2 separate regions of the Homo sapiens genome follow, and region 2 is linked to region 1. Evidence: promoter capture Hi-C in 16 types of primary human blood cells and fetal thymus (Javierre and others, 2016). All regions are on one chromosome and are shown on one strand. Each heading gives the region's core, a stretch centred on a gene start or on the middle of the fragment in contact. The rest is flanking DNA. Distances are from core to core; before and after follow the strand shown.

What was found. Contacts are between HindIII fragments. The CHiCAGO score rates a contact against its expected background, and 5 or more counts as called.
Region 2: a fragment that was not itself captured here is called in contact with the fragment with the promoter of DNAJB11 in region 1 in 1 of 17 cell types (non-activated CD4 T cells); the score reaches 6.6 in non-activated CD4 T cells.

What each region holds. Positions count from the first base shown.
Region 1 is chr3:186,567,395-186,573,009 of GRCh38, reverse strand. It overlaps DNAJB11 (DnaJ heat shock protein family (Hsp40) member B11), which reads right to left and starts at 2,290. Exons shown (of 10, transcript NM_016306.6): 1 at 2,045-2,290; 2 at 759-915. The coding sequence starts at 2,112. It also overlaps a transcript of TBCCD1 not described here. RefSeq lists silencers at 2,039-2,278, 5,478-5,615. The HindIII fragment of the contact is 6,099 bases long and covers 1-5,088 here.
Region 2 is chr3:179,603,774-179,609,388 of GRCh38, reverse strand. NDUFB5 (NADH:ubiquinone oxidoreductase subunit B5) reads right to left here and starts at 4,595. Exons shown (of 6, transcript NM_002492.4): 1 at 4,450-4,595. The coding sequence starts at 4,573. It overlaps MRPL47 (mitochondrial ribosomal protein L47), which reads left to right and starts at 4,751. Exons shown (of 7, transcript NM_020409.3): 1 at 4,751-4,862. The coding sequence starts at 4,765. RefSeq lists enhancers at 4,010-4,099, 4,130-4,289, 3,728-4,594, 4,470-4,669, 4,595-5,461. The HindIII fragment of the contact is 2,024 bases long and covers 2,127-4,150 here.

The DNA of each region.
Region 1 (5,615 bases), core at 1,041-3,540:
CAAAATCAAATTAAAACTGTGCTCTGTTTGATTTATGTAAAAAAGAAATTTAACTGAATTAGTTACCAACACTTTTACAAGCAGAACTCATATAAAAAATCTAGATTTTCAACTTTTCTTGAAAAATTAAATCATCCAGGAACATACTGTTTGCATTTGTATGACAAAAACTGGCTGGGGTTGAGTAACAGCTGCTCCCTTGAAATGGGGCCAGAAGGCTTCAGTTTGTCAAAGTCCTCAACAATCCTTATTGCTTCCCAATATGGAGGCAGAATATCTGCTGCCATGTTTTAACTTATACCTGCCCTGCATGTTATTTGTCTAGTTCATATGAACATGCAGGTTTGCAACTCTCATGAAGGCTTTCTTTTTATTTTTGGTTCTAGCTCCCAAACTGATTGAACGACAGACCAATCAGTTGATCTACTTATTAATCTATAATAAGTTCAAGACTAGCCTGGCCAACAGGGTGAAACCCTGTCTCTACTAAAAATACAAAAATTAGCCAGGTGTGGTGGCATGCACCTGTAATCCCAGCTACTTGGGAGGCTGAGGCGGGAGAACTGCTTGAACCCAGGAGGTGGACGTTGCAGTGAGCGGAGATTGCACCACTGCACTCCAGCCTAGGCAATAGAGACTCAGTCTCAAAATAAATAAATAAATAAATAAATGTGAGCTGAAAGGAGTGTTTCTCTGTATTGTATGTTTTTTCTAGAGCTACAGATTTTATTCGTACTTTATCACTTTTCCCAACTCACCTCATAAGCAGCACCCAGATCCTGGAATTTCTCCTGGGCTTGTGGATCATCAGGGTTCCGGTCGGGATGAAGCTGCAGGGCTAGTTTCCTATAGGCCTTTTTAATATCCTTTATAGAGGCACTTCGAGGCACCCCCAAGATCTTATAGAAATCTCGTCTGGGAAGTAGAGGGAGAGAATACTTCATTAAAGAGTTACATGTTACATTTTTCAAAGTAAAAGATTTATTTTTCCTCTACATTTAGGTTTGTATCTGAGCAAAGAGGTATAAAAATGAAGGTTTATGTGACACATACACACACAAAGAATGACTAAAGAGAGAACACCAGAATTTGTAATGAATCTTATATATTGAAGTAATCACAGTAAGAGGCTATATACTTCTTTTCGGATTATTCAAAACATCTGTGGCACTTTTCTTTCAGAACCACCTTCGGTCAAGAAAACCACTTCCTTATTTTATGGTCTCATGTTATCTTTAGGCAATAACCATATAATCAAATTAACTCTTCCCCCCTTTCCCTATACTGGCTCCAAATGATTTTGACTTTTCTAAAAGTCAAATAACACTCTCAAAGGATGATTTTCCTTCTTTAAAAAGATTATGCCACATAAATGTCCTAACAGTAGCACTGCCAGAATGTTAAAGATGAAGCAACTTAAGATAATAAATAGCTCAAGAAGCTGGGAAGTACAAGGGCTGTCTAAAGATCTTCTTGTTCCCATCCCGCATCCAATTTCGTTCAGTCCCAACTCGGGCTGGCATCATCCACCCACTTTAATGTCAGCCCCAGAATGGCTCTTCGAAGGCTTGGCATAGAGCATCGTCCGCTTCTCCACCTCAGCGGGGCACAGCAACTCACCTCTTTGATCAAACAAACGTCCATCCCCTCAACCTCAGCCTGGCACTGTCACTATCTTTCCTTACAGTCAGGCATCCCTCTTTCTTCCCCAGCTCTACGTGACACTGCTTCAGCTCGCAACCACCTTCTTTCCCTCATCCCCCAAATGCCGTTTGGCAATGCATCCAACTCCCACTCCTCTGGGCAAATCTAGCTCTACCTAAGACCCTCTCTGGACCTAAGGCCCTCTCACTGGTGTCACCCACGGTTCTCCTCTCACCCCACTAGCCTGGCCCATACTACCCCTTCCTCCGCCACCCCGCCAACCCACAGCGATGCCCCTCTCCACTCCGTCAGTCTGGCAATGCCACTTCCCCCACCCCCTCCCACCCCCCAGCAAAGGCTGACCCACAGGCCCCGTTGTCTGCGAGTGTCTGTTCCTCACCCGGCAATCACCGCCCCGATGAGGTATAGCAGCAACAGGCAAAAGGTGCTCAGGTTCTGCGGAGCCATGGTTCCTCTGTCCCGGGTCCTGTTCCACACACTCCTCACAGCCTCCTCCGCCGCCGCGTCGGCTCGCCAGCCCACCCGGCCCTGTGAGGCCGCCTCACACCGGGGGGGCGCGGGGGTCTCCTTGGTCCGCAGAGACAGCTAGCTAGCCCCCTCTTCTGCCGGTCCACTTCCCGGGAGTCCCGAGTCCCGGTGAGAGAAGCCCCCGGTAGGCGAGAGCCAATCGTTGCCCGGGACATCACACGCGGCCGGCGCCTGGAAGCCAATCAGCGCAGTACACTTCACCTCCGAGGCGGCACGGGCAACCAGTTAGGCTTCAGAACTGCAGTCGCAGCTCTTGACCAATTAGAAGCGGAGACGTCAGAGGGTCGCGCCGCTGCAGGAACCCGCTCTGCCTGAGCTACCGCGAGTCGTAGAAAATTACGTAATGATAGGGGGCCGGTCAGAGTGAGGGCACCTGAGGTACACGAAATCCCTCCGGCTTGCCCACTTCCTCGGACTTTCCACCAATCAGGAGCTTCCTCCCCAGCACCAACCAATTGTGGGAGAGAAGTTTTCTCTGTGCTACAAGCCCGGAATTTCATTCATACCCAGCTACGCTCCGAATGAGGGAGCAGAGGTACAGCGGCCGAATGAGCGGGAACAGTTATTCCACGACAGGTGTACATCAGACGCATTGCTTAGGCCTCTTATTTTACGTTCTCCAAGCAACTCCATAAGACAACTGTCTCGGAAAGGCTACAGTGATGACAGACCGACTTAAGTTCGGATTCGGCTTCCACCGCTTCTTAGTGGTGAGACCCCCCACCCCTCCCCTCCTCCCAAGTCTGAGCCTAAGTTTATCAACAAAACTGAGGCAAAGCACTTATTGGCAGTTCTGTGAATTTTAACAGGGAAAAAAATCGGTAAATCATCGGGCGTATAGTAAGCAGGCAACGAGTAAAAACCATTATTACGGTTCAAGCAGAACTCTTTGATTCCCCATCTTCCCCCCGATTTTGCTCATCGCAGTTACACAACACCTAGTTGATCAGGACAAAGCTCTAGGTGTTTTTATTCCTTTCATGCATAAGCTATCCAACTCTTTACCTCTGAACTATACTTCAATCTGTTCACTACATCTCCATTACCAGGATTCTGGGTCACAGTGTATCTCTCACCTGGCCAGGGCCTCCTAACTGGCCTCCTTGCCCCCACTCTTAATATCTTCCTTAATATCTTAATATATGTTGCTCATCCCTGTCCCTCACTCCATGATTTAAAAAAAAAAAAAAAAAGCCCGGGCGCGGTGGCTCACCCACCCAAAGTGTAATCAGCACTTTGCGAGGCCGAGACGGGCGGAGCACCTGAGGTCAGGAGCTTGAGACCAGGCTGGCCAACATGATGAAACCCTGTCTCTACTAAAACTACAAAAATTAGCCAGGTGTGGTGGCGAGCGCCTGTAACCCCAGCTGCTCGGGAGCCTGAGGCAGGAGAATTGCTTGAACCTGGGAGGTGGAGGTTGCAGTGAGCCGAGTTCCTGCCACTGCACTCCAGCCTGGGCGACAGAGTGACACACCGTTTCAAAATAAATAAATAAATAAATAAATAAAAAATAAAAGTCAAATCATGTCACTCCCCTGTTTAAAAGCCTGGAATGGCTCTTCATTTGCACTTAGAATAAAATCCCAACTCCATGCTAGTTTACAAAGCCGTTTATGCTTTGTAAACCTATTATACTCCTAACCATGCTCCAGCAAAACTTGCTTCCTTTCTTTTTTTTGTATACACCGAGCTCATTCCTGCCGAGGGCCTTTGTGCTAGCTATTGCCTTTGCCTGAAACACTGTACTCTCCCTCATGTGCTAGCATGGGTGATTCCTTCTTTAACTCATATATCAGCTTAAAGGTCGCCACCTCAGGGAGGACTTTCCCTGACCAATTAATCAAAATTAGCCCCTACTGAGTTCCTTACTCTTACACCACCCTGTTTTCTTTTCTTTATTTCTTTTTTTTTCCTGAGACAGAGTCTCGCTCTGTCGCCCAGGCTGGAGAGCAGTAGCGTGATCTTGGCTCACTGCAACCTCCGCCTCCTGGGTTCAAGCGATTCTCCTGCCTCAGCCTCCCGAGTAGCTGGGACTACAGGCGCACACCACCATGTCCGTCTAATTTTTTTGTATTTTTAGTAGAGACTGGGTTTAACCATGTTGGCCAGGCTGGTCTCGAACTCCTGACCTCAAGTGATCCACCCGCCTCAGCCTCCCAAACTGCTGGGATTATAGGCATGAGCCACCACGCCCGGCCTCCTATTTTTTTCATCCCTGGTCCCTAGACTTACACACTGAAATGCCAGTTTCATGAGAGCATGAATCTATATTGTTCTGTTCACAGCTGTATAAAAGAGCACCTTAGAACAGTGCCTGGCATGGAGTAGGTGCTGAAGTACTTTTGAGTCAAAGTTACTGGGATGGTGATCATTGTATGGCTGGCTTCTTACTCTTCAGGCCTCAGCTCAAATTTGGCACCACAAAGTGGCCTTCCCTGACCCCCCGCCCCAATTTTCATAGCATTTTTCACTATTTGAAATTATCTTATTTTATTCCTTAATATGTATTGTCTATTCTCCCTGTTATACACTCCAAGAAAGCAAGGACCTTGTCTGTTTTGTTCACTTCTGTCATTCTAGTGCGTACCACTGTGCCAGACACACAGTGGTACTCAACAAGTAACAGCAGGGTCACTGAGCTAATAAGTGGTGCAGCCTGGATCCTAACCCAGGTATGTGTAAATTTGAAGCCCCTGCTTTCAGGAAGATACCCAGTAGGGACAATGGCCACACAAAAGAGGAACTAAATTGCATTTTACGGTCTAATTTACCTTTGTATCTATCACACCTAGAGAGGCCATAAAGGAACTAAAAAAAGCAGGAAATGTCCAGAAATTCTGAAATGGAAGTTTAAAGGAAGGAGTGATGGCTTCTGCCCGGTAATCTGAAAAAGCTTCATGAAGGTGGAAACACGGCAGGAAAGCTAACAGAGTTAAGGAGCTGACACCGAGGGGCGGCAGGGAGTGCCAGTCTTGCTTCAGACGCCCTGGGCTTGAATCTTGGCTCCATCTCTTGTGTGACCTTAGGGTTGTGTTATTTTCACCTTTCTAGGCCCTAGTTTCTTCATCAGTAAAACGAATGTACTTAAAGGGCTCTTGACAAGACTTAGGAAATACACATAAAGTTGCTTTACACAGTGCTGAGACCATAGTAAGTGCTCTATAAATGCAAACTGCCATTAGTATTAGTAGCATTTCTGATGAAAGCGTGCTGATCTTACCAGCAGCTATTAGCTGACCACAGTTATGCGGAGCAACAGAAAGCTTCCTACCCCCCCGGGTTGAAAGGCGCGACACCAGAAAGCGGTGGGTCTGGCTCCAGGTGCCACTGTTGCGGACTCTCGACCCCAGCCTAGATTTTCTCAGACGCTTGAGCCGCAATCTGCCGCTCTAGCAACGGGGTCCGCCAGGTCTCGGTGGTGC
Region 2 (5,615 bases), core at 1,889-4,388, 7.0 Mb after region 1:
TGCTGTGCTGCCCATTGTTCTCTTGCAACTCTATCTTCGTATTTTCTCTAATAAATCTGTCCTCTGTATCTATGACTGTCTTGGTAAATTCTTTCACCACCCACAATGCCAGTCCCAGCCAGTAACACCCATGACACACATGACCCAGCAATTACACTTCTGCAGATATACCCATAAGAATTGAAAGCAGGGTCTCAGAAGAGGTATTTGTATATCCATGTTCACAGAAACATTATTCACAACACAAGTCATACTCAATGTCACTGATGAGTTCTTGGAAACTGTGACTTTAAGTGAAACCACATACAGCAGGTCCTTAAACAACATCACTTCCTTCTTTATTATAGGTTCTGACGGTCGCAGTTTCAAGAGCCAATGATGTTAAGTGAAGCTTTACAGTAATTAAAATCTGCAAGTGCTTCGGTGTAGTGGCTCACAGCTGTAATCCCAACACTTTAAGAGGCCAAGACAGGTGGATCACTTGAGGACAGGAGTTCGAAAGAATTCTTAACAGAACCCATTTAGGATTAAACAAGTTTTTGTGGGTCTGAAGAAACTCCCCAGGCCTCCACAAACAAGTTGACTGGAGGTCTGAAGGAACTTCCCAAACCTCCGTGATTTAGCAGGAGATAAGATAAGGGTAATCACCCCAGCACCTGGATCCATTTAAATTAAGTAAATTTACTAAGGCTCCAGAGGAAGGTCCTCAGGACTCAGACCTTAATTATAGATTTTAAAAAGTTAGTCACTTTTGTCTTTAGATAAGTGCACACTTACATGTAGACATATAGCTTAAAAGGTCTACAAGCTCTGGAAAACTGTAATTTTAAGTTGGTCTGGCGATAATTTCCAGGACTTCTCCCTGTAACCAGTTACAGGAATAAAAACTCTCTTCTGGCAGGGCGCGGTGGCTCATGTCTATAATCCCAGCACTTTGGGAGGCCAAGGCGGGCGGATCACCTGAGGCCGGGAGTTCAAGACCAGCCTGGCCAACATGGTGAAAACCCATCTCTACTAAAAATACAAAAAATTAGCCGGGCATGGAGGTGTGCACCTGTAATCCCAGCTACTCAGGAGGCTGAGGCAGGAGAATCGCCTGAACCCAGGAGGCAGAGATGGCTGTGTGAGCCAAGATCGCGCCACTGCACTCCAGCCTGGGCAACAGAGTGAGACTCTGTTTCAAAAAAAAACAAAACAAAACAAAAAAAAAACTCTCTTCCTCCCCAGTTCATCTGCATCTCATTATTGGATGGCAAGAAATAGCAGCCTGACCTTCAGTTTGATATGAGAACACGGGAAGCCAGGGGTTGCAGTGAGTCAAGATGGTGCCACTGCACTCTAGCCTGGAAGACAGAGCAAGACTCTGTCTCAAAAACAAAACAAACAAACAAACAAACAAAACCTAGATGCAACCCAATTGACAGATGATGGATAAGCAAAATGGGGTAAATACATACAATGGACAACGGACAATTCAGCTTTAAAAAGGAAGGAAATTCTGACATATGCTACGACATAAATATGCCTTGGGGATATTATGCTAAGTGACAGACAAATATTATATGATTCTACTTACATGAGAAATAGAGTAGTCAAAATCATAAAGACAGCAGAATGGTGGTTACCAGGGGCTACGTGGAAGGGGAATGGAGAGTTATTGTTTAACGGATACAGAGTTTTAGTTTTACCATATGAAAAAAGTTCTGGAGTTGGATGATGGTGATGGTTGCATAGCATTAGGAATGTATTTAATACCACTGAACGGTGCACTTAAAAATGGTTAAAATAGTAAATGTTATGTGTACTTTACCACAATTTTTTTAAAGGCTACTGCTGCCAGGCACTGTTGATTTTTTCCACTCACTCTTCACAACTACCTTTTGAGGCAGGTTAAAATTCTCATCTTTTTTAAAGAGGAGGAAATGCAGGTTATGAGCAATTAGGTGTCTTCCACTTTAGCTTCCAAGATGTGATGATCACAGACATGGCTTCTGAATTCTAGAGCCAGAATTTGAAGATAGGCAGTCTATCTCCAGAAAAAACAAAACAAGACAGGCTCTCTACTACATTAGAGCTTACATTCTTGTAGGGACAGATATAAACAACCATGTAAGAGATTAAAAGCTTTCATATCACAGTGACAGATGCAAAATACCTTTGAAAGCAGGTACACAGCTGAAAACACAGTAACCTTTAGTAAACATAGCTATTAGAACCTTCCCTGCTCTGATTGGAAAGGGCGCAGAACACGGTAATGATCCTTTGAGAACCCCAAGAAAGGGCAATAATGTGGAAAGAGAAACTGGGGGTGAAATTTTGCTGCAGTTTATCTCCAGCTGGATTTGATTGAATACTACCAGAGCGAGTATTTGAAGGATTTGTATTTGGCTATATGAGAATATCTGTAATCAGAAATGGCTTATAAAGGGATTTTCATCAAGGAATGTAGTTTTGTAACAAGTTCAAATTCCTGCTGGAAATTTGTTAAATACCACTGGTTCTTTGCATCATGTTTCCAGCAAATCCCTATGTATATTGCCTCATCCTGTGGAGTGGCATAATTCAAATTAAACTGGGAGAATAGGGGTAAAAAGAGAACAAGATATTTTGAGGCTGGAGACAACTTTCTGACTTTAAGTGTTTCACTTCCTCTTTACCTGCTTCTATTGCACAGGGCAAATAGCTTACAGTATATATCTAATGAAGAGGATTAAATAAATTAATACTTTAAACCCTTAAAATGATGCTTGAGGTCAGGTGGGGTGGCTCACGCCTGTGATCTCAGCACTCTGGGAGGCCAAGGCAGGTGGATCACGAGGTCAGGAGTTCGAGACCAGCCTAGCCAACATGATGAAACCCCATCTCTACTAAAAACACATAAAATTAGCCGGGCATGGAGGCGTGCAACTGTAATCCCAGCTACTCAAGAGGCTGAGGCAGGAGAATCGCCTGAACGCAGGAGGCAGAGGTTGCAGTGACCCAAGATCACGCCATTGCACTCCAGCCTGGGCAACAGAGCAAGACTCCGTCTTGAAAAAAATAAAAATAAAAAAGGATGCTTGACACGTAACAGGTGCTCAGTAAATGTTGGCTATTATTTAGTGACACATTATTTAATAATTGAGTCAGTTTCCTCATCTGTAAAATGAAAATAACATTGTAATTTCTTTGCAGAGTCTCTGAGATAATAAAGTACACTGAATATCAAGCATTTGATCTTTGCTATGATTATTCACACCGCCATGATGCAACTCACTGTCTCCAAGGAGGTCCAAATAGCCCTATTAAGACTGTATTGGTCAGGTGCAGTGGCTTACGCCTATAATCCCAGCACTTTGGGAGGCTGAGGTGGGCGGATCATTTGAGGTGAGGAGTTCGAGACCAGCCTGGCCAACATGGTGAAACCCCATCTCTACTAAATATACAAAAATTAGCCAGGCGTGGTGGTGTGCACCTGTAGCCTCAGCTACTGGGGAGGCTGAGGCGGGAGAATCGCTTGAACCCGGGGGGTGGAGATTGCAGTGAGCCAAGATGGTGCCACTGCACTCCAGCCTGGGTGACAGAGTGAGACTGTCTCAAAAGAAAAAAAAAAAAAGACTGTATTATGACTTTCCTGAGACCTAGGCACTTTTGCCTTCAAGGGCCCCTTCGTCTAAGTTATTAAAAATAATATTTTATGACTGCATTGGTATAAAACGAACATAATACAGGCTGGATTCGTTATCATATTCATAAACATTATGGTTTTTTTAAAAAAGAAATTTAAATTAAAAGACTTTCGTAGACCCCTAAAACTATCATGGGTTCAGGCAGGAGAATCGCTTGAACCCAGGAGGCGGAGGTTGCAGTGAGCCAAGATCGCGCCACTGCACTCCAGCCTGGGCAACAGAGTGAGACTCTGTCTCAAAAAACAAACAAACAAAACAAAACAAAACAAAAACCTCTCTTCCTCCCCAGTTCATCTGCATCTCATTATTGGGCGGCACGGTACTTACTGTGCCTAAAGAATAAGTTGGCCCTGAGCCTCTTTACCTGTCTACATATTACCTGTCTTCATATTCCTTAGCATAGGTGGGCTTCTCGGCAAGATGACTTTGCATCTGTGGGACTAGAACCTAGCCTTTGGGCAGGTGGAACGCAACAATAAGCTTGTGCCCTAGAGATACAGATCTCAGCTCTATACCTTTCTAGACTCAGCTTCATCCGCAAATTAGCATTAATTGGGATGGTGAATAACAACGTTTTAGAAATGCTAATAATGTAAACACGATCTATCTGGCTACTTCAGGAAAACCCCTCATATAGCTCGTGCTCCGTCTCTCCTGTCAAGCCCCAAGCCCACAACTTGTCCCGGCTCCCTCCGGATCCCACCAAGGTCACCCTGGAAGCGTCCTCCCTTTTCTCGCCCCGCACCCGCTTCACGCCCGTTCTCCCTAGGCCAGCACCCACCAGCAGCCTTCGGAAAGCCACGAGTGAGGAAGCCCCCAAATCCGAGGCGAGTGCCAAGGGGCCGGCCAGACAGAGCTGCCACCGCAGTAACCGAAACCCGCCGCAACAAACTCATGGCCGCCATGGCTACTACGGGCAGGAGGAAGAAGGGAGGCGGGTCACGGAAGCTGAGAGAGCCAATTTACCAATGAGGACAAAGGCAGGATGTGGCCATCTTAAGTGAGGGCAAGTTTTCTATTCTCCTCACCGCCGGCTTGAGACGCCGGAAGTGACGCTATCGTTGGCGGAAACGCGTTTTGCCAGTTATGCGAAAACATGGCTGCGGCCGGTTTGGCCCTTCTTTGTAGGAGAGTTTCATCCGCCCTGAAATCTTCCCGATCGTTAATAACTCCTCAGGTCCCTGCCTGCACAGGGTAAGTGATGTATAAAGTAGGTTTGCCCACCTCTCCAACTTTGGATCTTGTTTGGTTGCCGAGATGCCGAGATGCCGAGAACAACTCAAGAATGGAACGGCCGCCTGGATGGCAGAGCCGGAGCCCACTTTGGTGAGGAGTGAGTGACCTTGGAGAAGTCGCTCACCTCCGACATTTCTATTCCTTCCTCATTTTGTTGCTGCCTGCTGTGGACAAGACAGTATATGGGGTTTGTAGATGTCCAGCATTTGTTGAAGTAAATACATCTATAAGTACAGAAGCATCCTCTTGGGCTGGGTGAGGTGCGAAAAACTTTACCGAAGATGTTTTTGTTGTGATACTCAAGTCTGTGTCAAGTTTGGATGGATTAAAAAAGAAGAGATATTTGTATTTACAGGATGTGTTACAATGAAAGTAACTGGTAACTTAGTAACTTCTTTTATTTATTTATTTTTCTTGGTCCTGGATCCAGTGAAGTATCCATTTATTACATTGGTTGCCATGACTCTTTAGTCTCTATCCGGAACAATTTCTTTTTTTTTTTTTTCTTAATGTTGTTGACATTTTGATGAGATTAGCTTTTTAAGAATCTTATTCATTTGGATTTGTCTGATTGTTTCCTCATTATAAGATTTAGGCTAAATATTTTTGGTAGGGATACAACACTTGTGATAAACTTCATTATTTAGTTTCAAATCATCTCAGGTCGTTAACTATTTTTTAAAAACAGGATTTTTGAATTACTGCATAATA